5 separate regions of the Homo sapiens genome follow, and regions 2, 3, 4 and 5 are each linked to region 1. Evidence: promoter capture Hi-C in 16 types of primary human blood cells and fetal thymus (Javierre and others, 2016). All regions are on one chromosome and are shown on one strand. Each heading gives the region's core, a stretch centred on a gene start or on the middle of the fragment in contact. The rest is flanking DNA. Distances are from core to core; before and after follow the strand shown. Region 1 holds the start of ZFX-AS1 (ZFX antisense RNA 1). Region 2 overlaps CXorf58 (chromosome X open reading frame 58). Region 3 overlaps CXorf58 (chromosome X open reading frame 58). Region 4 has its middle 42 kb from the start of CXorf58. Region 5 overlaps KLHL15 (kelch like family member 15).

Region 1 (5,044 bases), core at 1,873-4,372:
GTACTGCGCAGCAAAACAATTCTATCTTCTTAATAGTTCTTCTATGTCTTTCCCAGCTGTCAAAATATAAAAGCACCTGGTTCTTCTAAGTTTATGTTTACCCTTAACACCTCAACAACCACAGCCCGCCTTCTCAACTTGCTTCTAGTCAGCCTCATGCAATGCACTGTTTCTCGAACTTTTCTAAACCATAGCCCTTTATAATAAACATGAGACTCTCATTCCCTCCAGCCCTTTCATGGAGCACCGCTGCTCACGACCTGTTACAGTCTAGAAAAATGGAAAAACTGAAAATGGGTATCTATGCCACCTAAAGGTTTCCATCATAAAATTCTAGGAAACAGGCAGGGCACGGTGGTTCATGCCTGTAATCCCAGCACTTTGGGAGGTCAAGGCAGGCAGATCACTTGAGGTCAGGAGTTCGAGACCAGCCTGGCCAACATGAAACCCTGTCTCTACTAAAAATACAAAAATTAACCAGGCATGGTGGCAGGGTCCTGTAGTCCCAGCTACTCGGGAGGCTGAGGCAGGAGAATTACTTGAACCCGGGAGGCAGAGGTTGCAATGAGCCAAGATCACACCACTGCACTCCAGCCTGGGCGACAGAGTGAGATTCAGTCTCAAAAAAAAAAAAAAATTACCACGGGAATACTCATTTCTCATTTTCGTCAAATAACCCACAGCACTAGTCCTGTACTTTTCAACCATGGTAAATGAAATGTTAGAAACCCCTCCCTATTTGTGTACCATAGAAATTCTGACAACTCTGAGCAAAAGATTATTTCGGATGAGAAATCAGGATAGAAAAAAGGAGCAGCTGTCTTAATAGAGACGCATCGTTCCAAAAGTAGCAAAATTTGCTTAACTTCTGAACATTCTTGTAATCGTTCTGATAATGAAAACACTGATCAACTTACTACTCTCATTATTTTTCAACTTTGAAACTTTTCCTAGTCCAATGGAACTACTAAGTACCGTAAAGCACAGCTCAGGGAACAGACGGCAGTGACAGGCGGGCAGTGGGAGGCGGGAGAACGGCTTGAGCCCAGGAGTTCGAGACCAGCCTGGGGCAATATAGCAAGAACCTGTCTCAAAATAAAAAATAAGTAAATAACAAGGTGCAGCTCAGGTGTGCCATCACTCTTCTAGTTGAGGGCACCCCCGCTGCCTACCCCATTGAGTATAAGCCCCTCCACCTGGCAAGCAAGCCCTTCTGCAATCTAACTTTTCTAGCCTGAATTCCCACCACTCCCCTACCTATACCATCCACTTTTGCCAAACTGTAAATACTTACTGTTTACTGAAGAAGCTTCACCCTTGAAACGTCCTTTCTCCACCTCCACCTCTACCTAACAAAGTCCTACCCATCCCTCGGTAACCTTCTCAAAATGCCACCTATTAATACTTCAGGAACCCGTCCCTCCCTGATCCTCCAATGGCAACCTTGCTTCCCTCGGAAATCCCAGTAATTAGTTGTACCTCTCACTTTACTGCATTTCACCTTGCCCCACCTACCTCTAAACATGAGACTTCTTGCAGCCACCGTCTGCATTACAAGAACCTTTTTAATGTTTCTTAGCATCTAGCACGGTGCATCGCTAACAGTAGGCTCCGAGTTTATCAAGAAAGTTGCACAGTGTGCAATCAAAAAAGTACGTTAGGGGATGAAACTCCGCCTTAAAACTTCACAAATGAAAAATCGAAATACCATGACAGGCAAATGCACAATAAATATGCACCACACTAAGTTGTCCTCCAATAAGAAAATAAAAAAGTCTGCCCTTATTCCTCGATTTAAAAAAATACCACCAACAGATCACTACTTAAATCGTTTTTCAAGAAAGTTGTTTCCACATAAATGAGTACGAATGATTCAAAATTTTATTCCTCCGCTCTCGTGTTGTGCAATTTTTTTCCCTATAGGACAAAAGAATGGCAAAAACTTTCCCATCAATCTTTATTTTTCTTCCTTTATTCAGATACTCGGGGCGGCAAAGATTGTTGGAAAAACAACTGCATCGAAAGCACCTTAGCAGCCACATATGATTTGACTTAAGCAAAAATAACATTTCCTGGGGTCCCGTATGCCCTGGTAAGCCCAGGTGTCCGGAATGCCACCTGCCCCGACTGCCCTCGGGTGGCTACAGGCGCGGGGGAAGGCGCAGGGCCAGGGGCGCTGAGGGTGAAACGGTCCCGGCGTCCGGGCGGCGGCGGTGGCCGCCTGCGGCAGCTCAGCTGAAACGCAGCGGAAACTGCAGCCAGTCACGGGGCTGCGGGAGGCAAGGCAGGAAGGTGGCGCTGCCGCCGAGCGCCTGGAGCCCGAGCGCTCATCATGGCGGCAAGGGCAATGGCCGCCACGGGGAGCGAGCACGCCCCTCCGCGCGCACACGCCGCCGCGCCGGGCCTCCGGGGCCCGTCACCGGCGCCGCTGCCGCCGCCGCCCGCTCTCCCACCCCCCCTCACGGGCTGTAGCGGAATTTTCTCTCCAGACACCGCCTCCAAGATGGCGGCTCCCCCTCCCGGCAACCCCCTCTATCGTCCCCTGCAGCAGGCGCCGAGCCGCCGCCATCTTGTCCCCCGTCCCTCCCCCCCCCTCACCGATATTTACATAGCGAAAATCGGCCCGGCCGGCCTGCGGCCTTCACCTCACGCCTGCAGCCTTCGCCTCCTCGCCAGGCCTCACCCCGGCGCGGTGCCCCAGGTCGGCCGCGGAGCCGACCCGGGGCCCCTCGACCGCCTCCGGCACAACCGGGCGACCCTCCCCCAACCCCCGCCCGCTTACGGAGCGCGCCTCCGCCGCCGCTCGGGGCAGCCGGGCTCCTCCCCGGGCCTAACTGCGGCCTCCTCGGGGCCTGCTCGGCGCCGCGCGCCACGCCGCCCGGCCTAGCGCGGGAGGGCGCCTTGCGGGCCGCCGACCAGGCCGAGACCAGGCCGCTGTGCGCGCACTAGGCCCCGCGGCCGCGGCGGCACCCGGGACTCACCGGACGGACGTGCGGGCGGCCGGCGACGGTGGCGGGTGCTGCAGGCCGGCCTTTCTCTGGAGCACTGGGCCGGGCTCCGGCTGGTGGGGCGGGCGGAGGGAGGGAGGAGGGGCCGAGCTCGGAGCTGACAAAAAGCGGCCCAGCTCCCCGGCACGGGCCCGCCGTCAGCACGTCACGTCACCGCCCGGGAGAGAGACCCAGGAAAATGCGGAAGGGTAGACAGGCCCCCTCCTCCGCCCGGTGGGTCCTCCTGGCACCCCGTGTCGGCGCCGCTCCCGCCCCGCGACCGGGGAGCCCAGTGGCCTCGCTGCGGCGGGGTCTCCGGCGGCCGGAGTCTCCGTGACAGCGCCCCCCTTCTTTCCACCTCCTCCGCGCTCCCGCCCGCCGCCGCCACACACGCGCCGCTGCCGCCGCCGCCTCGGCCGTAAAGCCCGCGCGGGGCCGCGGTCGGCCGACCCCGCGGAGAGGCAGGCGGCCCGGCCGCCCCCCACCATGTCCCGTGGGCCGCGGCCGCCCCCCGGGGGCCTCCCTGGAGACCTACCGCCTCTCGCGCCGGTCCTGGCCGAGGCTCCAGCTCGAGTTGTTTGCAGGCCCTCAGACCCCCGCCCGCAGTAAATGTGTTTTCTTCATCCCCGTGGCTGGGGAGGAAGATAAATTTAGCAACCCCCGCCGTCCCCTGCCTTCGCTTAAAAAAAAAAAATCTTTGAAATAAAATGAAAACGGGCTTGCCAGTCTAAATGGGTGTGCGGGAAGGGGGGTGGAGTGGGGGGAGAAGGGTTATCCCTAGAGCACCTACCAGGCCGTCTACTTTTTAAAAATAAGCAGTCAGAGCCAAACTGATTTTATTAGTTTGTACGGGGGAGGGAGATGAGCAAAGTTGCATTTTGAAACGTTTCGCACGTTGCAAAGAACAGGAATTTTCTGTGTATTTTCCTATGTACCCGTGTTTCAGAGCTTGGGAGCCTGTGAAATGTAAGACTGGTGTCATCGTTTCATAAATCATGAATTTTCCACATTCCTTAATAGAGAGGAGCCCAATTGGGTATGGATTTTTTTTTTTTTAAACACACTGCTTAAACAAGCCTTTTGAAGTTTCAAAAGACTTGGGAGAGAAGGGGAAAATGATTAAACAGCACTTACCAACTTCAAAAATGTGTATTTCGCACTTTACTTAGTTTAAATGTTTATGCTATCTTTCCATGCTGAACTTGGAACCCAAACTCTGTTTTAAAGTTACTAGGGAAAAGTTAAATAGTGGAGTCTTTACATTAATCTGGAATCTGGCATGCTATCCTTTAACACAGCACTAAATGTTAAAGGCATTTTTAAACAATAAGAAACACAAAAATTATAAAGCAAATAGTATACTGGTGTGAAATCTCTTTAAATACAGAGGCCACGTATTTTAGTTGCCTGACATAACTCTTTAAAACTCCCAGAATGCAATTTGTCCCTTCCCTCAGACATCTCTCAATCACAAATGCTTTCAAAAAGGAAAAACAAAAGTAGAGTAAGAAGAAATCTCTGAGCATGCACTGGATGATAATTTTCCTCTCGGGGCTTTAGTCTGAATTTTTCCAAGCGATTAAATTTCCTTTCAAAAATAGTAACAGCATGTATTCATTGTTTATAAAAATTACATCAGGCTGTGATAGACTTTCACAGAAAGACATTTCACAGAAAGGTAAATGAAACTAAGCAATGTTGTTTCAATAAAAAAAAATGAGAAATAGCTTGTGTGCCCACATTAATATTTCTTGCACTCCCAGACTGGAGTGCAATGGCGTGATCTTGGCTCACTGAACCTCTGCCTTCGGGGTTCAAGCGATTCTCCTGCCTCAGCCTCCCGAGTAGCTGGGATTACAGGCACTTGCCACCACGCCTGGCTAATTTTTCTATTTTTTTAGTAGAGATGGGGTTTCACCATGTTGGCCAGGCTGGTCTCCAACTCCTGACCTCAGGTAATCCACCCGCCTCGGCCTCCCAAAGTGCTGGGATTACAGGCGTGAGCCACCGTGCCCGGCCGCCCACATTAATATTTCAAAACATTGATAATCAGCGTT
Region 2 (5,044 bases), core at 1,694-4,193, 240 kb after region 1:
AAATGTACATCATGAAACGTCACCTTACTTGACGGCATTAATACATTTTTTCCACTAAAATACTTGTAACCATGGCCATCAGTATGAAGAAAAATTTTAAACACGATGAAAGGTGGAAACGTTTCACCTCTAAATCTGAAATAAAGATAAAAATTTAGTTATTTGGCATCAGGTTTTGGGCTCAGTTGCTTTTCCCCCTTATACTTAAGATAGTTCATATAGTTTCTTGCATACAGGGTAAAGGCTATGTCAGAGCATGTAAAGAATTGGTAATGAAATGGATCACATAGGATGTAAGACCCACACTTTGGTGTACTCACAACTATTCTCATACCTGTGTAAGACTGAATACAGAATGGGAGATGAGAGCTACTCTCATGGCAACTTTTAGCCACAGAGTCATGCCTCGGTTTCTTCACATAACAAATGTAAATAAGAATAACACATTTACTTTGTAATTAAGTTCTGAGAAGTTACAAGAATTTAAAAAATCCATATCTAAGATTTCCTCATATTAACTAAGTACTTCTTGAAATAAATCAGCATAGATACATTACCTGAATCTAATTTTACACTGCATAGTAGGATCCTTAATAAGCTTAGCCTCTAAGGGGGCCACTTTCTTCAGTATTTCATGTGTTACATAGAATTCCTGAAATAAAGGACAGTGCTGTAAAAGGAAAGCAGTATCCCACCCAGACACAATTTATGGACTATAACAGAGGCAACGTGGTAAAGTGAACATTATGCTGGACTTGGAGTTCTGAAGGGGTGGGTTTTTGTTTTGGCACCTCCACTTACTATCTGTGTAGCCTTGAGCCAGTTACTTAATCATTTTGGCCTCCAACTTTGGTTATCTGTCCCTTTTAGAGATCAAAGGCACTATTATTTCCCTATGACAGCACTTTTCACAATATATTATAATTACTTATCAACTTGTCTGTGCCTCCTACTAGACTGTAAGCTTCATGAAGGTAGGGATGGTGGCTTTTCTCTTTACCACTATATTCCTAGCATCTAATACAGTGCCTGGAACACAGCAGATGCTTAAGAAGTATTTGTTGAATGAATCACTGTAAGATGAGGATGATAATAGTAATAAGTTACTAGCTTTTAAGCACCTTTTATGTACCATATACTACTATGTTAGGTGCCTTATATACATTAGCTCATTTAATCCTTACATCAGCAACACTATGAGAATTTTTTGTTTGTTTTGAGACAGAGTCTCGCTCCGTCGCCCAGGCTCGAGTGCGGTGGCATGATCTCGGCTCACTGCAACCTCCGCCTCCCAGGTTCAAGCGATTCTCCTGCCTCAGCCTCCCGAGTAGCTGGGACTACAGGCACCTGCCACCACGCCCGGCTAATTTTGTATTTTTTCAGTAGAGACGGGGTTTCACCATATTGGCCAGGCTGGCCTGGAACTCCTGACCTTGTGAGCCGCACGCCTCAGCCTCCCAAAGTGCTGGGATTACAGGTGTGAGCCACCACTCAGGCTGCAGTGCAATGGCATGATCTCGGCTCACCGCAACCTCCACCTCCCAGGTTCAAGTGATTCTCCTGCTCAGCCTCCTGAGTAGCTGGAATTACAGGCATGCGCCACCATGCCTGGCTAATTTTGTATTTTTAATAGAGATGGGGTTTCTTCATGTTGGTCAGGCTGGTCTCGAGCTCCCGACTTCAGGTGATCCACCCGCCTCAGCCTCCCAAAGTGCTGGGATTACAGGCGTGAGCCACTGCACCTGGCCCATTATGAGAATATTATCACGCCTATTTTACAGATGAGAAGGCTGAGGCTCAGGGAATTTTTGTAATTTATAAAAAGGCATACAGGTAGTGAATGGGGAAGCCAGGATTCATTTAGTTCTGTTTGACTCTAAAGTCCCAACTCTTTCCCCCAAACAACCCCAACCAACCCCGTTATGCCTATGATAATCACATAAAAATGTACACTAAAGAGCTTTTAGGCTGGGCACTGCGGCTCACGCCTATAATCCTGGCACTTTGGGAGGCCAAAGCGGGAGGATCACCTGAGGTCAAGAGTTCGAGACCAACCTGGTCAACATGGTGAAACCCCATCTCTACTAAAAATACAAAAATTAGCCAGGCGTGATGGCAGGCGCCTGTAGTCCAAGCTATTTGGGAGGCTGAAGCAGGAGAATCGCTTGAACCCGGGAGGCAGAGGTTGCAGTGAGCCGAGATCGTGCCACTGCACTCCAGCCTGGGTGACAGAGCAAGACTCTGTCTCAAAATAAATAAATAAATAGCTTTTAAAAGGACAAAGCATTATTAATTTAAGGTATTAAAGTATTACTATAACAGATAAAAAAGAATTTCCTTCTGTTACAAAAGTCTAAAAATACTATGAAACCAGCATTATAAAATTAAATACAAGTTCCATATTCAAAGACAATGGATAATAGACCTGAAATGCCAGGAGTTTACCTGGGTGGGTTTTCTCTGAAGTATTCAGACGGAGTCTTGCTCTGTCGCCCAGGCTGGAGTGCAGTGGCTCAAACTCGGCTCACTATAACCTCCACCTCCCCGGTTCAAGGTAGCTGGGATTACAGGCGCACACCACCATGCCCGGCTAATTTTTTTGTATTTTTAGTAGAGACGGGGTTTCACCATGTTGACCGGACTGGTCTCGAACTCCTGACCTCAGGCAATCCACCCGCCTCGGCCTCCTAAAGATCCCAGCTCACGCTGGGATTACAGGTGTGAGCCACTGTGCCCAGCCGTATTCTGCTTTTACTGACATCAGAAATAGGTCTGTGGGTCAGATGGTGAACGGTGTATACATTGCTCAGACTTTATTATTTTTTTCAGAGCTGCTAAAATTCCCTTAAGAGTATCACTAATTGGCCGGGTGTGGTGGCTCACGCCTGTAATCCCAGCACTTTGGGAGGCCAAGGAGGGTGGATCACCTGAGGTCAGGAGTTTGAGACCAGCCTGGCTAACATGGTGAAACCCTGTCTCTACTAAAAGTACAAAAAAAAAAAAATTAGCTGGGCATGGCGGCACGCACCTGTAGTCCCAGCTACTAGGGAGGCGGAGGCAGGATAATCACTTGAACCTGGGTGGTGGAGGTTGCAGTGAGCCAAGATCATGCCACTGCACTCCAGCCTGGGCAACAGAGTGAGACTTCATCTCAAAAAAGAAAAGAAAAAAAAGAGTATCACTAATAATAGACTACTGGATTTATAGGTTGTTTTATTAGAATATTTGGTACTATGCCAAGGAAGGCTCTGCTAGGGTTGCCAGAGTTGCTTTCTGGAGGAGGGGGGATATGCACCTTTTTTTTTTGGTTTTGGTTTTCACTCAAGTAGGATCATGCTCTTCATACTGTCTGGTGCTTGCTTTTTTAACTGATGAGCTATCTTCATTTCCTTTCTATTGCAGAATCATGTTAAAGCTGCAAAGTTTAACACTATAAAAGCAGCAACACTTATTTAACCAGCATCATATCAATAGATATTATACAGTTTACTCCCTTTGCTGTTACAAACAACGGTGCAATCAAATTGTGTATGTATTGTAGAACAGATTCTTAGAAGTAAAATTGCTGGATAAAAGGTAAGGGAACTTTTAATTCAGAGCTTTTTGAAGGGGGACAGAGTCTCACTGTCGCCCAGGCTGGAATGTAGTGGCGCAATCTCCGCTCACCATAACCTCCACCTCCTGGGTTCAAGCAATTCTCCTGCCTCAGCCTCCCAAGTAGCTGTGACTACAGGCTCATGCCACCACGCCTGGCTATTTTTTTGTATTTTAGTAGAGACAGGGTTTCTCAATGTTGGCCAAACTGGTCTCGAACTCCTGGCCCTCCCTGCCTTGGCCTCCCAAAGTGCTGGGATTACAGGCGTGAGATGCTGCACCTTGCAGATTCGGAGCTTTTTATTGTTGGAAGAGAACTGTCTCACATTTTCAAATAAGGAATCAAATTTAAAAACAAAACAAGGCAAGCAGTATATTAATTTCAGAAAAAAGTAATAGTCATCCACATTTTAAAAAATCCAGAAATACTCATCTAGGGCTAACAGAAGAAACAATTCCAGAACTCCACGTGATATTATTAGATCCAAATAGAAGAGATAAAGAAAGGGCCGGGCGTGGTGGCTCACGCCTGTAATCCCAGCACTTTGGGAGGCCAAGGCAGGCAGATCACGAGGTCAGGAGATCGAGATCATCCTGGCTAACATGGTGAAACCCCATCGCTACTAAAAATACAAAACATTAGCCAGGCATGGTGACAGGTGCCTGTAGTCCCAGCTACTTGGGAGGCTGAAGCAGAAGAATCGCTTGAACCTGGGAGGCAGAGGTTGCAGTGAGCCAAGATTGTGCCACTGCACTCCAGCCTGGGTGAAAGAGCCAGACTCCCTCTCAAAAAAAAAAAAAAAAGAGGAGATAAAGAAGGTTATCTATTCGATCTTTAATTAATAGATCTTTTAGCTTGATAATTAAATCCCTCAGAGAAAAAAATAAGCAAAATACATACCGCTGCACAAATTGCGTGTTTTAGGAGTCGAAATATCATTTTGTTTGTATGAGATAACCAAGCCCTCTGTATTATTTGAGCTGAAATGTCTTTAAGCATTCTGAGAGAAAAAAAGAGGTTAATATTTATAAAGTAGTTTTCATTTTCCTAAAACCTTAGAGAACTATCAATTTATGCTTCCTCCTCCTGTACCTCCCCATCCCCCACTCTAAGACTGACCTAATGAGGAACATTTGGATGTGGTAATTGGAAGTGGTCATTTGCAGAATCTACTCAGAATGAGGATATGAAATACTTGAGGAGATTTCCCTTGAGATTAAAAAAAAAAGTCCTGGCCAAAACTTTGTCATCAAAAGGCATATAAAATATAAATATATCATTAAGAGGCATGTATATTATAAATAAAAAGTATGAGGAGACAAGCTTACTTCCCAAAAACATTCACGACCTAAAATGAAACGTCCAACTAGTTCAAGTGCTATGAAAATGGAATGGGGAATAGTCAAAGTTACAGGAGGCCCAGTTCTCTTCTGGGGGTGGATGACTATG
Region 3 (5,044 bases), core at 1,187-3,686, 220 kb after region 1:
GCAGTTGCAGTGAGCCAAGACTGCACCACTGCACTCCAGCCGGGGCAACAGAGTGGGACTCTGTCTCAAAAAAAAAATTGATTGGTTGTGGGTGCTCTAAAATGTTTTTAGACACATTTCTCATGGTTCCACTCAAATGTCACTTCATCCAAAAGGCATTCTTTGATCCCATCTCTGAATTTTATTGGGATCTCTCTCTGACTACTCAATGTTTTAGTTATCTGTGTATGACTTAGCTCCCTTATTGGAAGGCAGGAGCTATGCTACACATTATCATGCACACAGTATCATACTCACTAAATATTTATTTAATGCATCAACATTTTTATGGCAAATATAACTCAGATAAGTTAAACTCAGATGGGCCTAAAAATTAATGATAATAGCTATGTGTTCTGCATACCTAGTAGAGCTTGTTCATGACATGCTTGGGTTGAGAGGACTTTTTTTTTTTTGAGACAGGGTCTCATCCTGTCACCCAGGCTGGAGGGCAGTGACATGATCATGGCTAGCGGCCTCAACCTCCTGGGCTCCAGTGATCCTCCTGAGTAGCTGGGACTACAGGTACATGCCACCACGTCTGGCTATTTTTTTTTTTTTTGGGGGGGACGGAGTTTCACTCCTGTTGCCCAGGCTGCAGTTCAGTGACACGATCTCGGCTCACTGCAACCTCCGCCTCCTGGGTTCAAGCGATTCTCCTGCCTCAGCTGGGATTACAGGTGCATGCCACCATGCCTGGTTAATTTTTTTTGTATTTTTAGTAGAGATGGGGTTTCACCATGTTGGCCAAGCTGGTCTTGAACTCCTGACCTCAGGTAATCCACTTACCTCGGCCTCCCAAAGTGCTGAGATTACAGGCGTGAGCCATCACGCCTGGCCAATTTTTTAATCTTTGTAGAGATAGGGTCTCACTATGTTGCCCAGGCTGTTGAGAGGACTTTTGCACAAACCTTTTTAGAAATATGAGTTCATCTCTAGTATGAAGTGGAGATTTTCACTATTTTCCTTTGGAGTATTTGTAGAAATCCCACTTTTCTTTTTTTCCAATTTAAAATGATATCAAATTAGGAATTAAAAATACAAATATATATCATCACTTTAACATTATAGTCGTGCATTTAAGAGCCAGGGATAGGGCAGGAGGAGCTACAGTGCTAGGAAACAGAATAACAAGAAGGCCTTTAGGGTATATTACACAGTCACATTCATGCTTTCAAACACACACACACAGATGCACATACACACTCTCAACACACACCTTCACACTCACATATACACATACACACTCACACACATACACACACACAGGCAATCCTACCTTTGCACCATTTCATCTTTTTTTTTTTCCTTTTCTGGAGAATGGGGTCTCGCTGTGTTGCCCAGGCAGGTCTCAAACTCCTGGGCTCAAGCAATCCTCCGGCCTCTGCCTCACCAAGTGTTAGGATTACAGACATGAGCCACTGCACCCGGCCTTTTCAAACTTTTTTTTTTGAGATGGAGTCTTGCTTTATCGCCCAGGCTGGAGTGCAGCGGCGCAATCTCGGCTCACTGCAACCTCCACCTCCTGGGTTCAAGCGATTCTCCTGCCTCAGCCTCCCAAGTAGCTGGGATTATAGGCGTGTGCCACCAGGCCCGGCTAATTTTTGTATTTTTAGTAGAGACAGGGTTTCATCATGTTGGCCAGGCTGGTCTCGAACTCCTGACCTCAAGTGATCCACCCACCTTGGCCTCCCAAAGTGCTGGGATTACAGGCATGAGCCACCACGCCCGGCCTCCTGTTGCTAGCTCTTCAGCTCAAAGATCACAATATAAATGACAGATGATCATCATGATTAGTGACAAATCATGTCATACCTTCCAAAGTCAATCAGTGACTGGTCACTGTGAATCTGTTATTCATTTCACACACAAACAGCAACGTATATAGTTGTGTTGCATTTTTGTCTCCCAATGATAAACCCATGTGACATTTTACAAAAATGGAAAATCAAAAGAGGGAATTCCCCGTCAAAGAAACAAAAAGTGGTACCCCTTGAAGTGAAATTGGAATCAATCATACATGGAGTTCTAGAAGAAACAGGTGACTGTGGGAATGCTAACACTGCCATCATTCAAGACGTTGCAGATCTACAGCTAGAGGAACTTGGTGAGGATGAACTTATCAACATAAATGAGGAAAGTGGCTATGATAAAAAGATGAAGCTTTCCCAGTGGAAGTGATGCTGGCCAAAAAAAACTTCATACTGAAGGAACTCTGAGATATTTTGCAACATTTAAAGTGCAAAGAATAAAATGTTGGCAGCTGATCCAAATTTTAAAAGGAATATGACAATACATCAAGACATAGAAAAGATGCTTATAAGTTATACTAGAAGAACAAGAAGGCAAGCACTGTTTAAAGTACTCTTGGTAAGTTATTTTTTCACAGCTTTATTGAGGTTCACATACCATACAATTCACCATTTAAAGTGTACAATTCAATAGTTTCCAGTATATTCACAGTTGGTAAGATATTTTATGAAGAAACTAAACACTTTGTCTATGTTTCTAATGTTTTAAATTATAGTGTACTAAAAGTGTTCTAAATGTGTTGGGTTTTTTTCTTTCATTTTCCTATGTATTTATAACAGACAGCAAAAGAGTTTTTAATGTTTTGACAAAGAAGCTTGTTTTGTTTTGTTTTCAGAGATGGGGTCTCACTATGTTGCCTGGGCTACCCTCAAACTCCTGGGCTTAAGTGATCCTCTTGCCTCAGCCTCCCAAGTAGCTGGGACTACAGACAAAAAGTTTGAAAAGTCACAGGACAATCACAATTTTCCCCACAAATTATTAAGTTTGCTTTGCATGGTTTCAATTTGCTGGTCATTTTTATGGTCCTGCACTGCCATGCAAAGTAAGGCTGGGTATTTTTTTTCCTGAGTGAAGTAGTAAAATGGGTAAATATCATAGATCTGTCAATCATCTGCTCTGCCACTTATCAGATCTGTCTGTGACCTCAGGCAAGTTTTTTTGAGGCTTGTTAAACTTCATTTTTCTCATTTGTAAAAAAGGTCACAGAATTTACAAACTTGAAGATGAAAGAAGATAACACACATGTAAAGTGCTAAAGACAGTGCCACACCCGTATAAGGACTCAAACGTCAACAATGATCTTATCTCTCTCTTCCAGTATGTCTATCTGGGGACTCCTCTCTATGACATTAATCCTTGACATGTTCACAATCTGAAAGTATGTGGTCTTTGTCCTTAGCAAAGATAGTTGGCATTTCCTGGTTCACTTCCCTAAACTCACAGTCTAAGACTCTAAAAGAAAGAAAACATAATTGGGAGTCTCTAAGGCACTGCATTAATTTCATGTTTCACACTGAAGCAAATGAGTGAATAGTTAAGGCTGTATACAGACATATCTCAGAGATATTGTGGGTCTAGTTGCAGACCATGGTAATAAAGTGGATATCACAAATAGAGTCATGCTAATTTTTGGTTTCCCAGTGCATATAAAAGTTATGTTTACATTATACTGTAGTTTAAGTGTGCAACAGCATTATTTAAAAAAAAATGTACATACTTTAATTTAAAAATACTTTGTTATGGCTGGGCATAATGGCTCATGCCTGCAATGCCAGAACTTACGGAGGAAGAGCTGACAGGATCACTTGTGCCCAGAAGTTCGAGACCAGCCTAGGAAACATAGCAAGATCCCATCTCCACAAAAAGAAAAAAAATACTTTATTGCTAAAAAATGCTAATGATCATCTGAGCCTTCAGTGAGTCCTATTCTTTTTGCTGGTAGAGAGTCTTACCTTGATGTGGATGACTGCTGACTGATCAGGGTACTGGTTGCTGAAGACTGGGGTGGCTGTGGCTTTTTTTTTTTTTTTTGAGACAGGGTCTCACTCTGTTGCCCAGGCTGGAGTGCAATCATGGCTAAAGCAATCCTCCCACCTCAGTCTCCTGAGTAGCTGGGACCATAGGGGCATACCATCACACCTGGCTAATTTTGGGGTGGGGGGTAATTTTTGTAGAGACAGGGTCTCCCTATATTGCCCAGGCTGGTCTCAAACTCCATCTTCAAGAGATCCTCCAATCTCAGCCTCCCAAAGTACTGGGATTACAGCCATGAGCCACTGTGCCCAGCTCATGAATGTTCTCAATAGCATCTAGAATGGTGAATCGTTTCTGGATTTTTAAATTTTACTTTACCCAGATCCATCAGGGGAATCATTGTCTATGGCAGCTATAGCCTTATGAAACATATTTCTTTTTTCTTTTTTTTTTTTTTTTTTTTTGAGACAGAGTCTTGCCCTGTCACCCAGGCTGGAGTGCAGTGGTGCAATCTCGGCTCACTGCAAGCTCCGCCTCCTGGGTTCACGCCATTCTCCTGGCTCAGCCTCCCAAGTAGCTGGGACTACAGGCGCCCACCACCACGCCCGGCTAATTTTTGTATTTTTTAGTAGAGACGGGGTTTCACGGTGTTAGCCAGGATGGTCTCGATCTCCTGACCTTGTGATCCACCTGCCTTGGTCTCCCAAAGTGCTGGGATTACAGGCCTGAGCCACTCCGCCCGGATAGATTTAGCATAATTTTTAAGGGCCCTAAAATTTTCAGAATGGTAAATGAGAACTGGCTTTAAGTTAAAGTTACCAGCTGCATTAGCCCCTAACAAGAGACTCAGCCTGTCCTTTGAAGCCAGGCATTGACTTCTCCTCTCTAGCTGTGAAAGCCCTAGAGGGCATCTTCTAACAGTATAAGGCCATTTTGTCTACATTGAAAATCTGTTGTTTAGTGCAGCCACCTTCAACAATTATCTTAGTGAGATCTTCTGGATAACTTGCTGCAGCTTCTCCATCAGCACTTGCTGCTTCACCTTGCACTTTTATGTTATAAAGACGGCTTCTTTCCCTAAACTTCACGAACCAACCTCTGCTAGCTTCCAAAGTTTCTTCTGCAGCTTTCTCACCTCTCTGATCCTTCATAGAATTGAAGAGAGTTAAGGCCTTGCTCTGGATTAGGCTTTGGTTTAAGGGAATATTGTGGCTGGTTT
Region 4 (5,044 bases), core at 798-3,297, 200 kb after region 1:
GCATGTTAAAAGAATTACATTAATTTATTTGTGCTAAATGAGAAGGTACCCTCAATGAGAAAAAAAGGTAATGGGTTGCATGCTGAGAATAACCTATGGATTAATATTTAAAGTTTCTCAAGAGATGATGTAATAATAAAATCCCTGGGACAGATAGTATAATGGCATTAGTCATAGATTTCCGGAAATGCTAATCCAACGTCTTTTAACACTGGAGGTGTTTTATTCATAGAAATCTGTAATAATTATTGATCCAAAATATGCTTAGGTTGTATTTGATTCTTTCTTAATAGCCTATGATGGAACTGTATAATTTTTGGTATTTATTTTTTTCACTCTGGTCCATAACCACCATATCTTGATATTTTTCCCTTTTAGAAGTTTCTCATAGCTCTGCAAATGTTGGAGAATTTTGAAGAATATAATTTGACAGGTTAATTTGAATGCTAAAGATTGTCATAATTTAATATTACCAGGGAGAAATGAATATTCACTTTTCCAAAAATATAGAAGGAAATGACTTACTCTTGGAGAACTTTAAAAAATAATATGCATGAATATTTTAAACTTAATGTGATTTCTATGAATCATAGCCAATATAATACTGTAAATTTATAGATCAGGGTTGAAAATTTTTGGACTTTGGACGATCTTCACTCTTTCACATCTTCCTGGTCCAGAAATCTGAGCAACTCACCTTACTTACAAACAAAGACTTAATAGAGGTGAAGTAAGTTTTCATGTTTCTAAAACTTCATTAATTGTATAAACAGTATATACATTCACCAGTACATTATGAAAATAAGCTACAAAACAATTGTAACTTAAGCCACACTTAAAATACTTTAGCCAAATACTGTTTATGAAAAGGAAGCCTTGATGTTTGCTTTCAAGCAAATCAACATTTCTTCAAGTTGTCAATATTATTCTACAAATAATTAGCATTGGTTAGGGAGACTGTGTTATTGGTCCACCATAGGAAAAAGTGATAGAGAGTATCAGGTTATAGAATCTTATTATTCTGTGTCCTTTTCATTTTATTTTATTTTTATTTTTTTTGAGAGAGTCTCACTCTTGTCACCCAGGCTGGAGTGCTGTGGCACGATCTTGGCTCACTGCAACTTCTGCTTCCTGGGTTCAACCAATTTTCCTGCCTCAGCCTCCCAAGCAGCTGGGATTACAAGCACCCGCCACCATGCCTGGCTAATTTTTTTTTTTTTTTTTTTTTTTGTATTTTTAGTAGAGACAAGGTTTCACCATGTTCGCGAGGCTGGTCTCGATCCGCTGACCTCAGGTGATCCGTCCGCCTCGGCCTCCCAAAGTGTTGGGATTACAGGCTTGAGACACTGCACCCAGCCTTCGGTGTCCTTTTTAAACTTAAGGTTCTGATAATTTAGAAATATGTAGTAAAATTTATTCCTCTTCTTTTTAAAAATCCTTGATTGCTGAATTCCTGCAAATTGTTCCTACAAAATTTGTAATCATTGTCAGTGGTGCTTGGTCAATGCACCATTGTTAAAACCAGCCTTGAAAAATAGACAACCTTTTGTATACAAGTGGTTATGCAGTTAATAATTTCTTCAGAAAGGCACTGCTACACTATTTCTGTGCTATTATGAGGAGTCTCTTTGTCAGTTAATATGTATTTCACCCACACATTTTTTGAGCTATCTCCTGAGTTGATGACCAAGCTAATGGCATAGAGTAAACCGTAACAATTTGTCCCCCGAGAAGATCCTGTCAAGTTGCCTAAAATGATAAATGTCCTTAATAATTACTTCATATTTTTATCCTATTCAGGCATGTAGTAGATATTCAACATATATTTACTGAATTGGTATTTTTGTTGTTGTCACTGTTTTTAATAATAAAGAATTAGTCTCTTAAGGCCAGACACAGTGGCTCACACCTATAATCCCAATACCTTGGGAGGCTGAGGTGGCCCGATCGCTTGAGCTCAGGAGTTCAAGACCAGCCTGGGCAACATGGTGAAACCCTGCCTCTACGAAAAATACAAACATCAGCCGGGCATGGTGGCACAGCCTGTAGTTCCAGCTACTCGGGAGGCTGAGGTGGGAGGATTGCTTGAGCCTGAGAGGTGGAGGTTGCAGTGAGCCGAGATCATGCCACTGCACTCCAGCCTGGGCGACAGAGTGAGAACTTGTCTCAAAAAAAAAAAAAAAAAAGGAAGAAGAAGAAAAGAATGATTCTCTAGATCCAATTTACAGGAAATACAGAGGACAGAGTTACGTGTTAGCTACACCAAGGAATTCAATCAGCAAAGTCTAGATCATGGGAAATGTTACAGAATGAATGATCCAGTTTAATTAACAAATTGTAATGGGGGAGAAAAAAAGAGGTGGATAGGGAACCTACAGATTAAAAAGAAATAAAAACCATATAAAAAAAGAGGCAAAATTAAACTACATTGTGTATGGGTGCATGCTTAGGTGAGGAAACTATAAAAGAATGAGGTGATTACCATAAAAGCCAGGAGAATAGTTACTCTTAAGAGACGAGGTGCAGGGCCAGGTAGAGGGTTTCTGGGGTGGTCAGGTATGACTCTTTCTTCTGACGTGGATGGTAGTTACTAAGGTGTCTTGCCTTACAATAATGCATTCAACTGTAAAATCATTTTATATGATTTTCTATAGATGTGTTATACTTTTAAAAGTTTAATACACAACAAGAAATATATACATATATATGTTTTCAAATTACCAACATGACGTCACAACAGTTGGCAAGAGATGTCTAGTAGCACATCACTCTACAGCATTTCCACCATACAGATACAATAGATATAAATAGAATCGGCCGGGCACAGTGGCTCACACCTGTAATTCCAGCACTTTGGGAGGCCGAGGCAGGCACATCACAAGGTCAGGAGTTCGAGACCAGCCTGGCCGATATAGTGAAACTCCGTCTCTGCTAAAAATACAAAAATTAGCCGGGCGTGGTGGTGGGTGCCTGTAGTCCTAGCTTTTCAGGAGGCTGAGGCAGGAGAATCGCTTGAACCCGAGAGGGGGAGGTTGCAGTGAGGCGAGATCACACCATTGCACTCCAGCCTGGGCAACAAGAGCGAAACTCCATCTCAAAAAAAAAATAGAATCAAGAACTCATATCATAGAATGTAAAATGTAGAATCATTAGAATGATTCTCCTTAAATAATAATTAAAATAATTAGAAGCGATACTTTTTGAGAAGTTTTACCTGTGATTTTAATACAGGTTACCTAAGTAAACTATACAATTACGAGTTTATACAATTCATTTTTTTTTCTTTTTGAGACAGTGTCTGGCTCTGTCACTCAAGCTGGAGTGCAGTGGCACGATCTCAGCTTACTGCAGCCTCTGCCTCCCAGGCTCAAGCGATCCTCCGACTTCAGCCTCCCACGCAGCTGGGACTACAGGCATGTGCCACCATGCCCAGCTAATTTAAAAAAAAATTTTTGTAGAGATGGAGTTTTGCCATGTTGCCCAGGCTGGTCTCAAACTCCTGTGCTCAAGTGATCCACCTGTCTCGGCCTCCCAAAGCACTGGGATTACAGGCATGAGCCACTGTGCCTGACTACAGTTTAATTTTTAATAATGGCTATACTTACCAACCAGCTCACAAAATTCCTGAAAATTTAACAATGAATGTTAAAAATTTAACAACAGCAAGCTAAGTATGAGCCACTTTAGCACGCTCTTGTATTCATCCTAACAATTCCCCGACTTTCTTGTGTTTTTTAAATTTAGTTTTTAAAATCAAATGCATACTTGCAGTTTTAAAAATCAAATAGTTCTCCATTTTCTGATCCTCAGAGGCAACAGTTTCAAATATTTTATCTGATTCTTTTGGTATTGACCTCCATCTCTCAAAATTAGATACTTCTTGATTTTTCAGTTTTGGACATGGCTATAGACTGAATGATTGTGTTCCCACCCCCACCCCAATTCATATGTTGAAATTCTAACCTCCAGTGTGATGGTAGAGATGGGGCCTTTGGAAAGTGATTTAGGTCACTAGGGTAGCACTCTCATGAATGGGATTAGTGCCCTCATAAGAGACCCCACTTGCCCTTTTCTGTCATGGGAAAAGACAGCCACCTATGAGCCAGGAAGCAAGCCCTCACCAGACTCTGAATCTGCCAGTGCCTTGATTTTGGACTTCTCAGCCTCCAGAATTGTGAGAAGTTTCTGTTGTTTATAAACTGCCCCGTTTATGGTAGTCTGTTATAGCAGCCTAAACAGACTAAGACAGACATCATTTACTGACTTTACATTATGAGACGTAAGGATTAAATTCTCTCTCATTCCCTACCCAGCTACACACATACACATTTCCTATCCCTCCAGGTTTCACATATGGTTATATTCTAATTTTAGTTAGATCAGTAAAGGAAAATGCTATTTACTGTTCAAATGTGTAATATACTATGATTATTCTTCCTTTCCAACTTTTTGGTTTTTTTCTGAAGCTAATAACTGTTCTGGGTTTTTTTTTTTTCTCATTTTTTCCCATTTGTTTGGTTTCCTAAGTCCATATCCTCAGACTTTCTCTCACTCGGGTAAATCTTTCATATTCAAACATACTAGGTTTATGAGTTCATCTACCTAAAAAGTCTCTTCTGGAACCATCTGGTCTGCTCCAATCTGGATTTGTTTCTCTAAGTCTGCTCAATGGCTGCTGTTTGGAGACTTTCTCATCAGGGATTCCCTTTACCTCTCTTACGTTGCATCCCCTGTTTCTTGGATCCCATATTCACCTTCTTTCCTTGCTTATACTTTTGTATTGGTGAAATAACATCCTCTAAAGTTTCTTTTTTTTTTTTTTTTTGAGACGGAGTCTTGCTCTGTTGCCCAGGCTGGAGTGCAGTGGCTCGATCTCGGCTCGCTGCATGCTCTGCCTCCCAGGCTCACGCCATTCTCCTGCCTCAGCCTCCGGAGTAGCTGGGACTACAGGCGCCCGCTACCACGCCCAGAGAATTTTTTGTATTTTTAGTGGAGACGGGGTTTCACCGTGTTAGCCAGGATGGTCTCGATCTCCTGACCTCGT
Region 5 (5,044 bases), core at 1,567-4,066, 160 kb after region 1:
TTTGTTTGTTTGTTTTTGGAGATAAGAGTTTCGCTGTTGTTGCCCAGGCTGCAGTGCAATGGCATGATCTTGGCTCACTGTAACCTCCACCTCCCGGGTTCAAGCGATTCTTCTACTTCAGCCTCCCAAGTAGCTGGGGTTACAGGCATGCACCACCACACCTGGGCTTTTTTTTTTTTTTTTTTGAGACAGAGTTTTGTTCTTATTACCCAGGCTGGAGTGCAATGGCGCAATCTCAGCTCACTACAACCTCTGCCTCCCAGGTTCAAGTGATTTTCCTGCCTCAGCCTCTTGAGTAGCTGGAGTTACATGTACCTGCCACCATGTCCAGCTAAATTTTGTATTTTTAGTAGAGACGGGGTTTCACCATGTTGGCTAGGCTGGTCTTGAACTCCTGAGCTCAGGTAATCTGCCCGCCTCAGCCTCCCAAAGTGCTGAGATTACAGGCATGAGCCACCGTGCCTGGCCAATGTTAGTTTTCTCTCTTATGTAGTTGGACGAGGGGTTCTCAGCCTTTTTTGTGCTATTTACCCCTTTGCTGATGTTGTGAAGCCCATGGAAGGACCCCTTCTCAAAATAATGATTTTAATGATAAAATGCCTGACATTACAAAGGAAACCAGTTATACTGAATACAGTTTTCAAAATACTTAAATTTGTGACGTTTTTTGTTTTGACCACTGTTTTGGACTAAGGCAAGGAATTAGTGAATGGGCTAAAGAAAGAAAGATAGGAAGGAGGAAAGGAAAGAGAGGAGAAGGAAGGGGGGGGAGGAAGCTCATAAATATATACACCTGGTTTTGACTTCCCTCCCAAACTGTCATCCCAGATTTCCAACAGGCTCTTAGACATTTCCGCCTCAGAACCCTATCAAGGAAGTTGAATACCTCTCCCAAACCAGCTCATCTTCCCTGCTTTCCCTATTGATATCAACACTCTTTCCATCACCTCAAGTCTAAATGCTCAAATCACATTTGAGTCCTCATTCTTTCACCCTATTTCAAATCAGTCATGGTTGTCTGTAGATGTTATCTCTACGCTATCTAATTCCTGTTACCCAAATTTAAGACCCTCTTATCCTTGTCTTATTATGACAAAGGATTTTTCTGCTTGGTCCCCTACTTCTTATATCTTCCACAAAGTATCTCTTGAATGTCTTGGGCCAGTTTAGTATAATCTTTATCTCTAATTCTGCCACACTCACAGATGTGCTGTTTGGCTTCATACCTAATTGTCACCTGACTCATTTACCTATTGGTAAATTTGTATTTGTTTCCACTTTCCCAAATACATTCTAGGTTCTTTAAGGAAACGGATCACATCTTACGCTTATTTTTGTTTCTCCCTATAGCACTTAGGACAATACTTAAAAGTGCTTTATTTTTATTTTATTTTATTAATTTTGTAGAGATGAGGTCTTGCTTTGTTTGCCCAGGCTGGTCTCAAGTGATCCTCCCACCTTGGCCTCCCTAAGTGCTTGGACAACAGGCATGAGCCACTGCACCTGGCCAAAAATGCTTTATATAAATCTTGGTAGTCATCATAATTAGGTAGCTCCAGCTCCAGAAGCAAAAAGGAAAATGTTTGCCAGGCGCAGTGACTCACACCTGTCATCCCAGCAGCTCAGGAGGCTGAGGCAGGAGGATCGCTTGAGGCCAGGAGTTCAAGACCAGCCTGGGCAACAGAGCAAGACCCCATCTCTAAAAATATATAGTAATAATAATTTTAAAATAAAATTTTAAAAATTAAAGGAAAAAGTTTGACCTGATATCTACTGAATTCTTACAGGAGTTATCAGACCAAGTCTTTATGTCAAAACCCCGAAATTTTACATGTATTTAAATTTTCACTAACTTAACTCCCCAAATGATTCAGTCACAGCTTTATGATGTTACTTGTGGTTAAGAAAACTGTGGATATGGTTTCCTCTACTGTGAAGCCCTGTACTTGTCCTCATACCCGCTACTTGTAGCCCAGGGCTTCACATAATAGGTGCCTAATTATTTGTTTACTCTTAAAAGCTTGGGAATGTACATAGATCATTATAAATTAAGAAAACATAGGAGGCCCAGTGCAGTGGCTCACGCCTGTAATCCCAGCACTTTGGGAGGCTGAGGCGGGTGGATCACAAGGTCAGGAGTTCAAGACCAGCCTGGTCAAGATGATGAAACCTCATCTCTACTAAAAATAAAAAAATTAGCTGGGCGCGTGGTGGCAGGCGCCTCAGGAGGCTGAGGCAGAGAAGTGCTTGAACCTGGGAGGCGGAGCTTGCGGTGAGCTGAGTCCATGCAACTGCACTCCAGCCTGGGCAACAGAGTGAGACTCCATCTCCAAAAAAAAAAAAAAGATTTTTTAAAAGCTTTGTAGAAAACAAAAGAAAGTAGGTGATCTTAGCAGGAAAAGCAGTTTTAGTAAAGTGAGCCTAAGATGATCGTATTAGTCAGCTTTGATAATTTGTTTGCAGCTGATGCTTTTTCCTTTGGTTAAATTCTTTTTCTTGTGTTCTTAGGTTAAGACATCAGAATTTTATAGATACTCCCGACAGCTCCGTTACGAAGTTGACCAAGCATTGAATTACTTTCAGAATGTTCACCAGCAGCCTTTGTTGGATATGAAGTCAAGCCGCATCCGTTCTGCAAAACCGCAAACTACAGTATTTCGAGGAATGATTGGACATAGCATGGTTAACAGTAAAATACTTCTCTTAAAGAAACCAAGAGTCTGGTGGGAGCTAGAAGGCCCACAAGTACCTCTGCGACCTGACTGCCTTGCTATCGTCAATAATTTTGTGTTCCTGTTAGGCGGGGAAGAGCTGGGCCCGGATGGTGAATTCCATGCTTCTTCCAAAGTATTCAGGTATGACCCGAGACAGAACTCCTGGCTGCAGATGGCAGATATGTCTGTACCACGCTCTGAATTTGCTGTAGGTGTTATTGGGAAGTTTATTTACGCCGTAGCAGGCAGAACCAGAGATGAGACTTTCTATTCAACTGAGAGATATGACATCACCAACGATAAATGGGAATTTGTGGATCCTTATCCAGTTAACAAATATGGACATGAGGGGACAGTGCTCAATAACAAATTGTTTATCACCGGTGGAATCACCTCATCTTCCACCTCCAAGCAAGTGTGCGTGTTTGACCCCAGCAAAGAAGGGACCATAGAACAACGGACCAGGAGAACTCAAGTGGTTACCAACTGTTGGGAGAATAAGAGCAAGATGAATTACGCGAGATGCTTTCACAAGATGATTTCTTACAATGGCAAGCTTTATGTCTTCGGTGGTGTCTGTGTGATCTTGAGGGCCTCTTTCGAATCTCAGGGATGCCCTTCTACAGAAGTATACAACCCAGAGACTGATCAGTGGACCATCTTGGCATCCATGCCGATTGGTAGAAGTGGCCATGGTGTGACTGTGCTGGACAAACAAATAATGGTTCTTGGAGGCCTTTGTTATAATGGTCATTACAGCGATTCCATCCTCACTTTTGATCCGGATGAAAACAAGTGGAAGGAAGATGAGTACCCTCGGATGCCCTGCAAGCTGGATGGTTTACAAGTATGCAACCTGCATTTTCCGGACTATGTACTGGATGAGGTCAGGCGTTGCAACTAATGACATCCTCCTCCCTAAAAAAAGAGGCAAACAAAGTATTTGTTTGCACAGAGTAATTAATTAAAACATATAAAGAAAAACCTCACCAGTTTTACTATCAAAGCCATTGGTCTAACATTGTAAGAATTTTTCATTCTGTGCTAGCATCCTTTTTTTCTTTTCAGTGGCCTCAAACTCATGCAATAAGTTAATTCTAAGTGCTAGCTCTTGAAACTACTTCCAGAAGCAGTTGAATAGAATGCTCCACTTATCTGGGATATTGATTTTCTGCTTTAAACATTTCTTTCAGATGTTAGCGTAGGAGTCATGTGTCTTCTAAGAGAAGACCCGATAAGTGTCACTGGATGTGATTTCAGTCTCTGTCTCTATCTGAAACCTTTTTGAAGATTTATTTCAGTGTATTTCAGTCTGTTATACTTTTTAGTTTTATTATTTAAAAGTTTAAAACTCTTGACCTTTTTGCATGGCTTTTTGCTGAAAATGCAAAAATATAAATTTTCTACAAAATTAACTTTTTATATTCAAAACACTATTTCTAAGCTGCCTTCTCTTATCCGCATTGTGTTAGTGAAAGCATATTCATACTCGCATACAACCTATAAATACACAAGGCACATCCCTTTTATGCGTGGTTAGGATTCTATATTTTTAAGCTAGTGCACTTACTTGCACACACAGTTCGCCATACTTGTTGAATTTTAGATGTAACGTCTTTTCACATATTAACATTTTTAGAAAGTTGAAATAACTGGAGTCCTCATTTGCTATCAAAGTAGCCTATCTTCAGTCCATACTGATTCAGTAATATTTGAACTCCTTATATTTCTGAAACATGTATGGTTATGAAAACTAACACTTTATATTTTATTTTCAAAAGTAAATGTTAGTGTTCTTTGTCGATGTATGTCTTTTCTTTTTGAAAATGTTTTTCTTTGCAGTCTGTTTAACGTTACCCTGTTTTTAGTGAGAATCGGAGTGGTATATGACAAGTTCTGGCCCTGCAGCATGCAAGCACTTTTAAAGAGCATTTAGGTAATACCAGACTCCTAAATCAAGGCCCCTTAAAAGTAAGTGCAACTCCCATTTTTTACATTCAGTAAGGCTGCTGCATTTGTTATTGAATGGAAGGTAGAAACTCTTAGAAAATTTGACCTCAGTTTTGACTTAGAGGTAAGAAATAGAATTATAATGTTACTGGTTTTATCTACTTGTTTATTTTGTACAAAATACCCAGCGACACTAGGGATGTAAGCCCTCAGTTTTTGTTTTATTTACTGAAAGCTATTAGCATGAAGGATAGTAACCACAAAGTTCAGAATGGATCAAGAATAGCTGTTTAAAAGCATTTATAATAAGTGTTTTAGGATTAGCTGCACCTTTCAACTCTTTAAATGCAGAGGAAAAAACATAGTTGACAAAGTTAAGC

Evidence for each region. The method cuts DNA at HindIII sites, captures the fragments that hold promoters and counts their contacts. A CHiCAGO score of 5 or more calls a contact.
Region 2: a contact is called between a fragment that was not itself captured here and the fragment with the promoter of ZFX-AS1 in region 1, in 14 of 17 cell types (total CD4 T cells, total B cells, naive CD8 T cells and 11 more). The highest score is 13.5, in total CD4 T cells.
Region 3: a contact is called between a fragment that was not itself captured here and the fragment with the promoter of ZFX-AS1 in region 1, in 7 of 17 cell types (naive CD8 T cells, activated CD4 T cells, fetal thymus and 4 more). The highest score is 10.8, in naive CD8 T cells.
Region 4: a contact is called between a fragment that was not itself captured here and the fragment with the promoter of ZFX-AS1 in region 1, in 2 of 17 cell types (naive CD8 T cells and activated CD4 T cells). The highest score is 6.4, in naive CD8 T cells.
Region 5: a contact is called between a fragment that was not itself captured here and the fragment with the promoter of ZFX-AS1 in region 1, in 2 of 17 cell types (total B cells and naive CD8 T cells). The highest score is 6.1, in total B cells.

The regions. Positions count from the first base shown.
Region 1 is chrX:24,147,732-24,152,775 of GRCh38, reverse strand. ZFX-AS1 (ZFX antisense RNA 1) reads left to right here and starts at 3,122. Exons shown (of 3, transcript NR_046657.1): 1 at 3,122-3,221; 2 at 3,934-4,023. ZFX (zinc finger protein X-linked) reads right to left here and starts at 3,047. Exons shown (of 10, transcript NM_003410.4): 1 at 2,982-3,047; 2 at 976-1,085; 3 at 1-56. RefSeq lists silencers at 2,041-2,550, 2,601-2,650, 2,671-3,080, 3,141-3,500 and enhancers at 2,591-3,404, 3,611-3,710. The HindIII fragment of the contact is 5,789 bases long and covers 1,312-5,044 here.
Region 2 is chrX:23,911,308-23,916,351 of GRCh38, reverse strand. CXorf58 (chromosome X open reading frame 58) reads right to left here. Exons shown (of 9, transcript NM_152761.3): 3 at 4,496-4,595; 4 at 558-652; 5 at 24-135. Among named protein-coding and RNA genes, the nearest start is that of CXorf58, 5.8 kb to the right of the region's middle. The HindIII fragment of the contact is 3,954 bases long and covers 967-4,920 here.
Region 3 is chrX:23,929,442-23,934,485 of GRCh38, reverse strand. The region is part of intron 6 of CXorf58 (chromosome X open reading frame 58); the gene reads right to left. Among named protein-coding and RNA genes, the nearest start is that of CXorf58, 24 kb to the right of the region's middle. The HindIII fragment of the contact is 463 bases long and covers 2,205-2,667 here.
Region 4 is chrX:23,947,688-23,952,731 of GRCh38, reverse strand. No RefSeq gene overlaps it. Among named protein-coding and RNA genes, the nearest start is that of CXorf58, 42 kb to the right of the region's middle. RefSeq lists an enhancer at 1-139. The HindIII fragment of the contact is 8,514 bases long and covers 1-5,044 here.
Region 5 is chrX:23,986,495-23,991,538 of GRCh38, reverse strand. KLHL15 (kelch like family member 15) reads left to right here. Exons shown (of 4, transcript NM_030624.3): 4 at 2,509-5,044. The coding sequence ends at 3,618. Among named protein-coding and RNA genes, the nearest start is that of KLHL15, 38 kb to the left of the region's middle. The HindIII fragment of the contact is 912 bases long and covers 2,361-3,272 here.